4 separate regions of the Homo sapiens genome follow, and all the other regions are linked to region 3. The links are contacts of gene promoters, found by promoter capture Hi-C in human tissues and cell types (Jung and others, 2019). All regions are on one chromosome and are shown on one strand. The core of a region is centred on a gene start or on the middle of the fragment in contact, and the rest is flanking DNA. Distances in the headings are between cores, read along the strand shown. Region 1 has its middle 74 kb from the start of CCT8L2. Region 2 has its middle 34 kb from the start of LINC01665. Region 3 holds the start of CCT8L2 (chaperonin containing TCP1 subunit 8 like 2). Region 4 has its middle 53 kb from the start of LINC01665.

Region 1 (2,700 bases), core at 157-2,656, 73 kb before region 3:
GGAGTCTTGGATGGATAGGGTGGGAATTACACCAGTGAAACTCAGCTTTGTGTGTGCCAGGCATTGGGCCCTGGGATATGCAGTCATGTGTTGTATAATGACATTTTAGTCAATGACAAACCACACGTAAGTCAGTGGTACCATAAGATGATTATGGAGCTGAAAAATTCCTATTGCTTAGTGACATAGCCATTGTAATGTTAGGGTAATGCATTTCTGTGTTTCTGGTGATGCTGGTGTAAACAAATCTGTGCTGCCAGTTCTATAAAAGCATAGCATGTACAATTACGTACAATATATAATACTTGATAATGAACAACTATGTTACTGATTTATTTTTTTGAGACAGAGTCTTGCTCTGTCGCACAGGCTGGAGTGCAGTGGCGTGATCTTGGCTCACTGCAACTTCTGCCTCACAGGTTGAAGCGATTCTTCTGCCTCAGCCTCCTGAGTAGCAGGGAATACAGGCACTCACCACCAAGGCCAGCTAATCTTTGTATTTTTAGCAGAGATGGGGTTTCACCACACTGCCCAGGCTGGTCTCAAACTCCTGACCTCAAATGATCTGCCCTCCTCAGCCTCCCGAAGTGCTGGGATTACCCACATGAGACACTGTGCCCAGCCCTGGTGTATTTAGTGTTTTTCATAATTTTAGAATGTATGTCTTCTACTTACATTAAAAAGTAGTTAACTATAAAACAGCCTCAGGCAGGTCCTTCAGGAAGTATTCTGGAAGAAGAAGGCATTGTTATCAGAGGAGATGACAGCTCCATGCGTGTAATTGCCCAGGCTGGAGTGCAGTGGCATGATCTCGGCTCACTGCAACCTCCGCCTCCTGGGTTCAAGCAATTCTCCTCCGTCAGTCTCCTGAGTAGCTGGGATTACAGGTGCACACCACCATGCCTGGCTAAGTTTTGTATTTTTAGTAGAGATGAGGGTTTCACCATGTTGGCCAGGATGGTCTCGAACTCCTGACCTCAAATGATCTGCCTGCCTCGGCCTCCCAAAGTGCTGGGATTACAGGTGTGAGACACCACGACTGGCAATATTTTTTAAGATACATTTCAGTAAGCTAAGGTTAATTTATTGAAGAAAAGCTTTAAAAATTTTTGGTGTAGCCTAAGCATATGGTGTTTATAAAGTCTACAGTAGTGTACAGTAAGGTCCTATGCCTTCACACTCACTGACTCACCACAGCATCTTCCAGTCCTGCAAGCTCCTTTCATGGTAAGTGCCCTATACAGGAGTACCATTTTAAAATCTCTCATACTCCATTCTTACTGTACCTTCTCTATGTTCAGGTACACAAGTACTTACATTGTGTTACAACTGCTTATGGTATATTCAGTAAAGTATCAGGCTGTACAGGTGTGTAGCCTAGGAGCAATAGGCTACGCCATACAGCCTAGGTGTTTAGTAGGCTATACAAGGCTATACAAGGTTTGTGTAAATGCACTCTGCTGTTTGCACAATGCTGCAATCACCTAAGGAGTCATTTCTCAGAACCATCCCGTGATTAAGAGAGGCATGATCATACAGTCCTCATCTCCCTGAAAGCTCAGTCAACCCTGTGCAGTGCTACTGCCACACTCCCCTTTCGCACATGTAGAAATCAAGGATCTTTGGCTCCTCTGAGTGACTTGTTCAAGGTTTCTCAGTTTCCAAAAGATGGAGGCGGGACTTGAATTGAGATTTCCCTTTCTTGAGAACCTGTGGTCCTTAACCATTAAAACCACTTAAGAGGTCTTCTCTCTTGATCACTACCTACTAAGCGCTAGGCGCGGTGCTGAGACGTTCTCTTGATTATCATATTGAGTCTTTAGATTTAGGAGAAACAGGCCGAGCGCGCTGGCTCACGCCTGTAATCTCAGCACTTTGGGAGGCCGAGGTAGGAAGATCACAAGGTCAGGAGATGGAGACCATTCTGGCTAACACGGTGAAACCCCACCTCTACTAAAAATACAAAAATTAGCAGGCGGTGGCGGGCGCCTGTAGTCTCAGCTGCTCGGGAAGCTGAGGCAGGAGAATGGCATGAATCGGGGAGGCGGAGCTTGCAGTGAGCCGAGATCGCACCACAGCACTCCAGCCTGGGTGACAGAGCGAGACTGTCTCAAAAAAAAAAAAAAAATTTAGGAGAAACAAGTCCCGAAGCCCTGACCCTAACACGCAAGGGTTAGTGGAGATGTGGGGCTTGAACTCAGCTTCTCCGTTGAGTCTGGCTGTCTCCGGGACGCAGGCACGTGCTTGCACACCTCCATGGTGGCGATCCCGCCCCCTTAGTAGCGTCCTTAGCTCCGCACTTCTTGCAGGGAAGTTCCTCTTGGCCCAGACCCTCGTCCTAGGCCCCGCGTCGTGGGGGAAGCGAAAGGGGCAGTGTGGGGAAGTGGCCGAGGGGTCGGGTGCGGGATGGTCTGCAGAGAGGCAGGCGGCGGTGCGGAGCCGGGAACCACGCGCTCACCCTCCAAGTCGGACGGGCCCGGCGGGGGTGGGCGAGACACTGGGAACAGCGGCCAGCTCCAGAGGGCGCGAGGCGGGCCGCGCGGGGAGGGGTGGCGCGCGCGGTTGGGGGGCAGTGAGGGTCGCCGCGGCGGCGCGCAGCACGGCGGGAACATGGCGCGCGAAACTGGCGCGCGCGCCTAGCTGGCGGGACCCTTAGCTCCAGGTGGACGCGGCCCGGACCCCGTGGATATGGAGCAGTCG
Region 2 (2,700 bases), core at 184-2,683, 120 kb after region 3:
ATTTATAAATATATGTGTACACTTATCAAAATAATTCACATAAAATCTCTGAATAAAATTATCTGTACGCTTTTTCTGTCAATAAAAGCAATATAGTATAATTCTTGGTAGTAAACCTCTTTGTTTTCATTCTGTTGCCCACCATGTGAGCTGCCATGTTGGTATAATACCTTGATCATTTGATATTTTAATACAGCAAATAATAGTGATCCCCCCAAAATAATAAATAAATAAATAAATCAGTGAGTTTCAAGGAAATAAATTGTTTGATGGATCAGATAATTTGAAGTTGTTAGTTTGTTCTCTATCAAGGTGAACGAAGATGAAAACTAAAGTTCTCAAGGCCAGTGCATACATCAGTCACCATTACCAAATATCTTGACACCTATATTGCCAAATATTTCATGTACCGCTTTAGTGGTGATTAATCAATGTGCCATGGCACTGAAACTGAAACAAGACTTTGTAGTACAAGTGATATTCAAAGGGTTTTGAAAATTTATCAGCCCTATAGATATAGATGAAAATTTATCATCTATATCTATCTAGAAATACTGTTTTTATAAATGTTACCTATCCAAATATTGGTTTTATTTACTTAATATTTAGAAAACATGAGTTTAGTAAAAATTGTTCAGATTTTCTTAATGTAGTGTGTGAAATTACTATGTAATTATACAAGAAATATGCTACACAGCTGAATATACAAATAGGCCAGCAGAGGTAGCAAAAGGTGCCCTTCAGTGTTATTATCTCCCCTATAATCTTCAGCAACATCACCCGCTCTTCTCTCTACACCACTGATGTATGTTATCTAAATCAAGTTCTGTGCAAATGCCACCTCAACATGAGTCCTCTAGCCTTGCCTTCTTATCAGAATGCAGCTTGCAAGCCCCAATATGTAATTCTAGAGCCACCTCTGAAAAATACACACTTGTTGCAAGTATTGAAAAGCCTCATATTGCAAATTCAGAATTTACAATATTGAAAAAATTAATAATTTTTTTAAAAAGTTACAATACTGTGAACTATATAAAATGAATTGTGCTGGGATCAGATGACTCTCTTCATTCCAGCCTATCTTATATTTTCTCATTAATTTCTCCATATAGTCACAACTAACAACAACAGACTCACTATTACATTTCATTAATTGGCTATTTTATAATAAATGATCTCAATAGCATTTCTGAACTGTCTGCTGTTCTGGTTTTACATAATTCTTGAATTTTTGAATGAGTTAGTTTTTTATTGAAAAAGACCTGACTCTTATGCTTAGAAAAGCCATCATTTCTTTCTGTAAGCTTTCTATCTTCTATAAGCTTTACATGTTCCATAAGCAAACATTCACTGGTTTTGTGATCAAACTAGAGAGGCAAATTCAGTTAATAATAACAACGTCATTTATCATCCTCAAATCTAGTGTTATGGATAATATGATTTCCACAAGGAGATGGTTGCATGAGCGACAAGAGAAAGACAATCAACAGTCTTTTACTCATACCAAGATATGTGCACACACACTTGTTTCCACAGTCAAAGTAATGCCATATGTCCCCAGTGATGTGGGTGGGCAAAAGGAACAGTTGGCCTGCTAATGAGGGCCATATGTACACGCAGCCTATCATACCATCCTTCTTACTTATGGTTGCTGAAAACTCAGTTGAAGTGCTTGCTCTGAGGAATAGCATGGCTGGAGGAGGGGAGGCTTCCTTAATAGCAGGAAAGGACCATTTGTTGTACAACTACTGTATCTCTGAAACTGGGAGCTAAAAATATGCATGTACAATACTCATTCTCATTAAGAGTTACTTAAGCATCAGTAGAGTTCTTTATTCCAGTTTCACCTTATTTCACTAAATTCTTTTGCATTTATGTGCAAAGGGATCTTTGGCCCTTTTCAAAAATTACCTTTCATAATCAATCTTGTTAATTTGATGTTCAGTTACACCAACCTCTCTTTATTTTTAGCTTGATCTTCAGAAAATTTATACTTTCTTTGACATTGTTAAATGTTACAATATTAAAAGAAATGAAAAAGACTTAAAAACTTAGAATATTTGAATGAGGGTTGCTGGAAGGCAGAGAGAGCAATAAGGCAAAAGTACTTACTTACTGCACTACTGTTCCAAAGTAAAAAAAAAAAACGAAGATTTTAAAAATGATTATAGCAGCTTTGTATCTCAACCAGGGTTTCCTTTGAAATTTCTACAACTGCAAACACTATTCAGCAATTTACACTGATTATAAAATTTATTGTTTTAAGGTCAATTGTGATACTGTGATCAGATAATAAAATTTACTTTACTCTTAATGGCTTCATTTTGACAAATGAGGGAGCTTTTAGGAAGGACAATGCCCCCTGCACAACAACCAGTTAAGCATGTCACATCCATTTACAATATAATTTTAAGAAAAATGAAGGACAAACTACTTGTGAGGCAGCAAGAATTCATTTGCATTAAATTAATTTGAACAGGGCATTTCAAGTTCTCTCTGGCAACGACGGAATAAAGGGGAAAACGAATCTATCTTATGCAACGATCCTCTTCTAGGTTACAGAAAGATTTGAAAGGCTGACATGATCATTGTTAAATTTCTTCTAGAAGTCTATGATTAGTATCATAGATAAAACTCATGAGATAAAATATTCACAATGAATGTTTGTGAACTGCATCAATTATTATGGAACTACTGTCT
Region 3 (2,700 bases), core at 182-2,681:
GCCTGCTCTGCACTCCGCAGCCCCTGGGTGGTGGCTCCCCTGAGAACCACAGTGAGGGCAGGTGTGCCTGTACATTCCCATTCAAATACCACAGCCAAACCATCTCCCAGCTCCTGCCTGTAAACCCTCTGGCACTTGCCTGGCCTCTGGGGAGGGAGCAGACGAGGCAGCAGAGGTGTGTCCAACACCTCACTCAGGTAAATGATCTCCATCCAAGACCTAGCTTGAATCACCACGATGCCATACTTGTCCGCCAGTGTGAGGGTCTCCTCGTCGACCTCCCCCAACACCACTGCCACATTAATTCCTGCAGCTGCTAGCTGGCCTACTTGCTTTTCTAGTAATTGATCGCTTCCTTTACTAAATTGAGCTAGATCAGCAGGACTAGAAAGACGGGCCGTTGCTGGTGCATTTGGATGGGCAGGACCAAAGGGGCAAGCAAAGAGAGCCACCCTGGCACCACTTAACACTGTGGCCATTTGCCCACAGAGCTTCCCAGATATTGCTAACCCCGGGAGGAGGCAGGAATCCTCCAGTGTCCCCCCGGGCAGCGCGCACACCCCAACACGCTCAGGCTTGAAGCTGCCGTCTAGTTCCTTGATAGCCCAGCAGGCGTGGGCCACCAGCTTGGTCAAGTGGTCCATGGGGGACAGGGTGTGGGTATTCATCACAGAATGGAGGGCCCAGGATGGATCTTCCAAAGGCCCCAGAGATTGGATGGCCAGGGAGGGCAGTGTGGCCAGGACCTCTGCAGTGGCCGTGGCGTAGGCCTCCCGGAGCTGCGGGCGAGGCAGGCCAGCCTTCAGCAGCTGCTCTGCCTGTTCCAGCAAGGCTTCCGTCAGCAGAACCACGAAGGCTGTGCCGTCCCCACTATTCTCTGCCTGGGTTTGTCCTGCTTCCCGGAGGAGCCATGCTGCTGGGTGCTCCAGCTCCAGGGCCCTGAGGATGGCAGTGGCACACCCCGTGCACACTGTTTCTCCTTTCATGGTCACCAGGAACTTCTGCCGGCCGTGGGGGCCATAGCAAGGCCGGATGACACTGGCCAGGGTCTGGACTGCAGCCAAGCTGCTCAGCAGGTGGGGCTCCTCCTCTTCTGGACTCCTCGGGCTCTCCCTTGGGTTCAGTGCCAGCCGCTGGGGCAGCTCCAGGGCTGAAGGGACTGTGCTGTCCATGGCCCGCAGAGAGAGGAGAGGCCACCGTGGGTTGCAGAGATGCTCTAGAAACAGCAGCTGGGGCACTCCTGACACCGATCGTTGAAAGTACTCAAGAGGTCAGTGGAAGCAAGGAGCCAAATGCCCATTGATTGGTATCTGAAGACATCAGCACGGACCAGCACTCCACTGTGGGTCCAAGGATGAGCTCCAAAGAGCCCAGTCCTAAAGCCACCCCAGGGTTGATTCTGTAAAGGAACTGGGTCTTGGGGCCTCTCAACCTTGGTGGCTGAAATGGGATCTTTAACTGATGAAGTCACAAAGTGGAAAATGGAACCAGGATAGAGAATGAGGTCACAGAAGGCTGGTTAGAACTGAGGAGGCCCTACCAGCAGGCAAAAGTCAGGCCTTGTCCAGCAATGGAGGTACATGCACCTCTGCACCAGGTTTGAGACTTGTTTAAACGTAAGAGACAATGAGGAGGAGATCAAGTGAAAAACTACCCATTTCACCCTATCTGGAGTGCAGGGGCATAACCATGGTTCACTGCAGGCCCAGCTCCCTGGTCTCAAGCAGTCCTCCTGCTCAGGTTCCCAAGTACCTGGGACTACAGGCACACACCACCACACCTAGCTAGTTTTTTTATTTTTTGTAGAGACAGTGTTTCTGTCTGTTGTCCAGGCAGGTCTCGAATTCCTAGCCTCAAGAGAGCCTTCCACCTTGGCCTCCCAAAGTGCTAGGACTACAGGTGTGAGCCACCACCTCACCCACCCTTTTTTTTTTTTTTTTTTTGAGACAGAGTCACACTCTGTTGCCCAGGCTGGAGTGCAGTGGTACAATCTTAGCTCACTGCAACCTCCACCTCCCAGGTTCAAGCAGTTCTCCTGCCTCAGCCTCTCAGTAGCTGGGATTACAGGTGCCAGCCACCACGCCCGGCTAATTTTTTATATTTTTAGTAGAGATAGGGGGATTTCACCATGTTGGCCATGGTTGGCCAGGTTAGTCTCAAACTCCTGGCCTCAAGTGATCCGCCCACCTCGGCCTCCAAAAGTGCTGGGATTACAGGTGTGAGCCACTGCACCTGGCCTTTTTTTTTTATTTGAGAAGGAACTGAGAGATGATGTCTGTGTTTTGTTTTGTTTTGGTGTTACTTTCTCTTGCAGTACTGTGTAATATTAGCCATGTTTTGCTGTCTGCCTTTGACTTTTTGGGTATCTTATCAGTTTGTGCTTGTGTATCAGGTTTCTTAGGGTGTCTGTTGGTCTTTCAGGGTGCAGGTGTGGGAGGCTGCACAGCGTGCATGCCTGTGCCACGACTCCCAACTCTGCCTCCCTGGCAGAGGCAGGGCAAGACAAGTGGGGAAGGATGCTGACAGCTCACAGACAAATAGAAGTGAACCCAGAGGGGTGAAAAGCAACCAGCCTCCCAGCGGTCAGGGAGGTAGAAGCCTAAATGGGGTCCTGAGATTTAAATGCGAATCGCCTTCCCATCCTAACCTTCAATGCTTACAATTTAAGTCTCTTTTTTTCATTCTCTCTCCTTTCCTCAC
Region 4 (2,700 bases), core at 150-2,649, 100 kb after region 3:
TCAACCCTGCCAAGCCCATTACCTGGTACCAGGAAAGGACTCTAAATACATGAAAGTCCCCATTGGTTCTCAAGGCCCCACAATGAATCACTCTGGCCTCAGACATGACATTTTAGTAAGAGACCACGAATCCTACTTTAGAAAGAAAGGGCATAGAGGTATGATCACTCCTGGACACAAAGGGAAAATGTGGAGAAATTAAAGGGTTATAATTAGTTATAAAGATATAGGATCAACACACACTTATTATTGTTTGGTTTCCTAATCACATCGTGATTGGATAATTTCCTGCTGTTTGAAACCAGGACAGAGGTTGGTACTGAGCATATTTAATATCAGCCACAACATCCAAAAGTAACCCCAGGCCACTTTTAATCCTCTATCATTTCTGAAGTCTCGCTCTCCTGAATTGAGGACTGTACACCAGATTCTTACTGTTGGACCTGGCGGCATCAGCTGCTGCATCCACTGAATCCACAGAGACATCCGTGACCAGGATGACCACCGCCTTCGAGGCTCCCGGCCTGGCACCATGCATTTCTGAAGTCAAGTGTCGCACAGCAAAGCCCAAGGCATCCCCTGAGGATGGAGAACAGATCACACCAAGTCAGTACTGACTGCGGCTGGACACCCTGTCTCACGGTGGATCCTTAAGTCACTTAAAAGCTGAATGATTCAGAGACTCCAAGGAACACCCAGTTGAGATCTGGAGAGACGTGGAAGAGCATCTAGCCCCTCACTTTCCAGGAGAAGAAACTAAGGCCAAGGAGCAAAGTGACTGGCCGAGGTCACACAGTCACTTATGCCAAAAATAAGAACCAGAATGCAGCTTCTGCATCCAGCCTGTGGCACCAACGTTACCGATTTGGCTGGGGCCTCCCTCCCGCTGCATGACGTCCACAAGGCTCAGCAAATGGGCTTTCTCCGGGGCCACGTTCCATGGCACGTCAATGGTGGTGATGCTTCCATACTGGAGCACTGACCCCTGAGTGAGAGGAGGCCCTAAACGGAACAAGAAAATGGGGATTATTCTGAATCAAGTGGAGCCCCAAAAAGAGCCTCTTCGTCACCTGCTGCTTCAGGTGCCTCACTCACTCACCTATATTGGCTTTTGAAATGAAAGCCTTAGCAAAACTCTTCATTTCATCAAAAGAAGAAGCTGGGAAACTGGAGGAGCCATCCAGGAGAAGGATCACGTCCAGGGGCTGGCTGCAGTCTGCAAAGATAACCAGGAAGGTGAGCACACAGGTGCCAGCAGGGGCACTGGCCGCCAGGCCTACAACCTGACATCCCATAGGATCTGCAGGGCGTGCTGACCACGTGGCACCACCAAGGGGGGCGGGGGCTGCCTTTGTGAGTGCAAGGGCAACGTGGGCCAGGGAGGAGGGGATAGGGGAGATGGAGTTCCTGGGGCTGGACTACCTCAGGTTTGGAGACACTGAGAAGCCTCCAGTTCTACCCAAAGGAAGCTTAAATGTCTACAAATAAAAGCAGTAGGCATGGGCTTCCTCGGTAAGAAGGGGCCGCCACTCTTCTAGAAATGAGTAAAATACTGGCCTGGCAATACAAGACTGCAAAAGGAAATGGAGCGGCAGCCCCTCCCTGGACAATGAGCTGCTGTGTCCTCAGATCTTGCAAGGCAGGTGAACGTACTGTGATTCTTCCAGCTATAAATGCCTAGTGCTCCTGTTAGTGTCTGAGCACATCTGAGATTTGATGAAATGATGTAATTGTTGTTTTCCTCAGCAGAAATATTACAAGAATTTAAATAAATCTATGGCCATGAATAAAAACAAAAACAAAGAAACAAAAGTACTGACAAGTGTGAGACTCAAAAGATACTAAAAGAAGGCTTATTATTCTGAGATGGTCCCAAACACACCGAATAAAGATGTTCAGGAACTAGGAATGGATTAGACACCAGTGTCAGTAAAAGGTAGTAATAACAGCAGTGGGAGCAAGCATTTTTTTTGAGCACTGTCATGTGCCAGATACTATTTTAAGCAAGTAGGTGCTATTATTATCCCCATTTTATAGATGAGGAGACTGATATACAAAGAGGTTAAGTATTTGCCCAAAATTACCCAGCTAGCAAGTGGCAGAGATAAGATTCAAACTAAGGCAGACACTGACTCCAGTGTCTGAAGACTGCACCTGCTACCTGGCACCTGACATCCTGGTCTCGCCCTGAAGAATGTCAGCTACTCAGAATAATTTCACCCACCCAGTGTGGTCAAAACGAAGCTTATCATCATCACCTTTAACAGAGGTTACCTTGAAGGTGGAGGGTGGAATTGGGTGGGGAAGAGGCCGTGTGATAAAGTAAGACTTGCATATTTTTTTTTTTACTCCTTAGTGGCATTGTTTAAATGTTAACAATAGGCTTCCATTACCTTTGAATTTACAGAAGCACACACAATAAGAAAAGATCTTCCCCCGCAAAAGGATCACAGTTTGTCTCCCTGCCAGGGAGGTGAGGAAACACAGGCCCTTTGAAGGCAAGTTTCAACCAAGGGCACACAGACCAGGGAAGCCAGGATTAGAACCCAAGTCATATCTTGGCAGATGCATGTAGTACCAAGGCCATGCCAGCCCTCGCCCAGCCCTCCCACCTGCACACAAGGTGCCAGCATACCAGGGGCAGGGGAGCGGGTGGGGATCTGCAGCCCCTCTCCGGAGCAGCACCTCTGCAGCACCAGG

What was found. The method cuts DNA at HindIII sites, captures the fragments that hold promoters and counts their contacts. A contact is called where the count stands out against the background at its distance.
Region 1: a fragment that was not itself captured here is called in contact with the fragment with the promoter of CCT8L2 in region 3 in 4 of the 25 tissues and cell types used here (dorsolateral prefrontal cortex, heart left ventricle, lymphoblastoid cells and 1 more).
Region 2: a contact is called between a fragment that was not itself captured here and the fragment with the promoter of CCT8L2 in region 3, in 3 of the 25 tissues and cell types used here (H1 embryonic stem cells, dorsolateral prefrontal cortex and mesendoderm cells).
Region 4: a fragment that was not itself captured here is called in contact with the fragment with the promoter of CCT8L2 in region 3 in 4 of the 25 tissues and cell types used here (H1 embryonic stem cells, dorsolateral prefrontal cortex, lymphoblastoid cells and 1 more).

The regions. Positions count from the first base shown.
Region 1 is chr22:16,517,927-16,520,626 of GRCh38, forward strand. No RefSeq gene overlaps it. Among named protein-coding and RNA genes, the nearest start is that of CCT8L2, 74 kb to the right of the region's middle. The HindIII fragment of the contact is 4,273 bases long and covers 1-2,700 here.
Region 2 is chr22:16,713,189-16,715,888 of GRCh38, forward strand. No RefSeq gene overlaps it. Among named protein-coding and RNA genes, the nearest start is that of LINC01665, 34 kb to the right of the region's middle. The HindIII fragment of the contact is 4,386 bases long and covers 1-2,700 here.
Region 3 is chr22:16,591,379-16,594,078 of GRCh38, forward strand. It overlaps CCT8L2 (chaperonin containing TCP1 subunit 8 like 2), which reads right to left and starts at 1,432. Exons shown (of 1, transcript NM_014406.5): 1 at 1-1,432. The coding sequence starts at 1,172. The HindIII fragment of the contact is 16,456 bases long and covers 1-2,700 here.
Region 4 is chr22:16,694,143-16,696,842 of GRCh38, forward strand. It overlaps the pseudogene VWFP1. Among named protein-coding and RNA genes, the nearest start is that of LINC01665, 53 kb to the right of the region's middle. The HindIII fragment of the contact is 3,702 bases long and covers 1-2,700 here.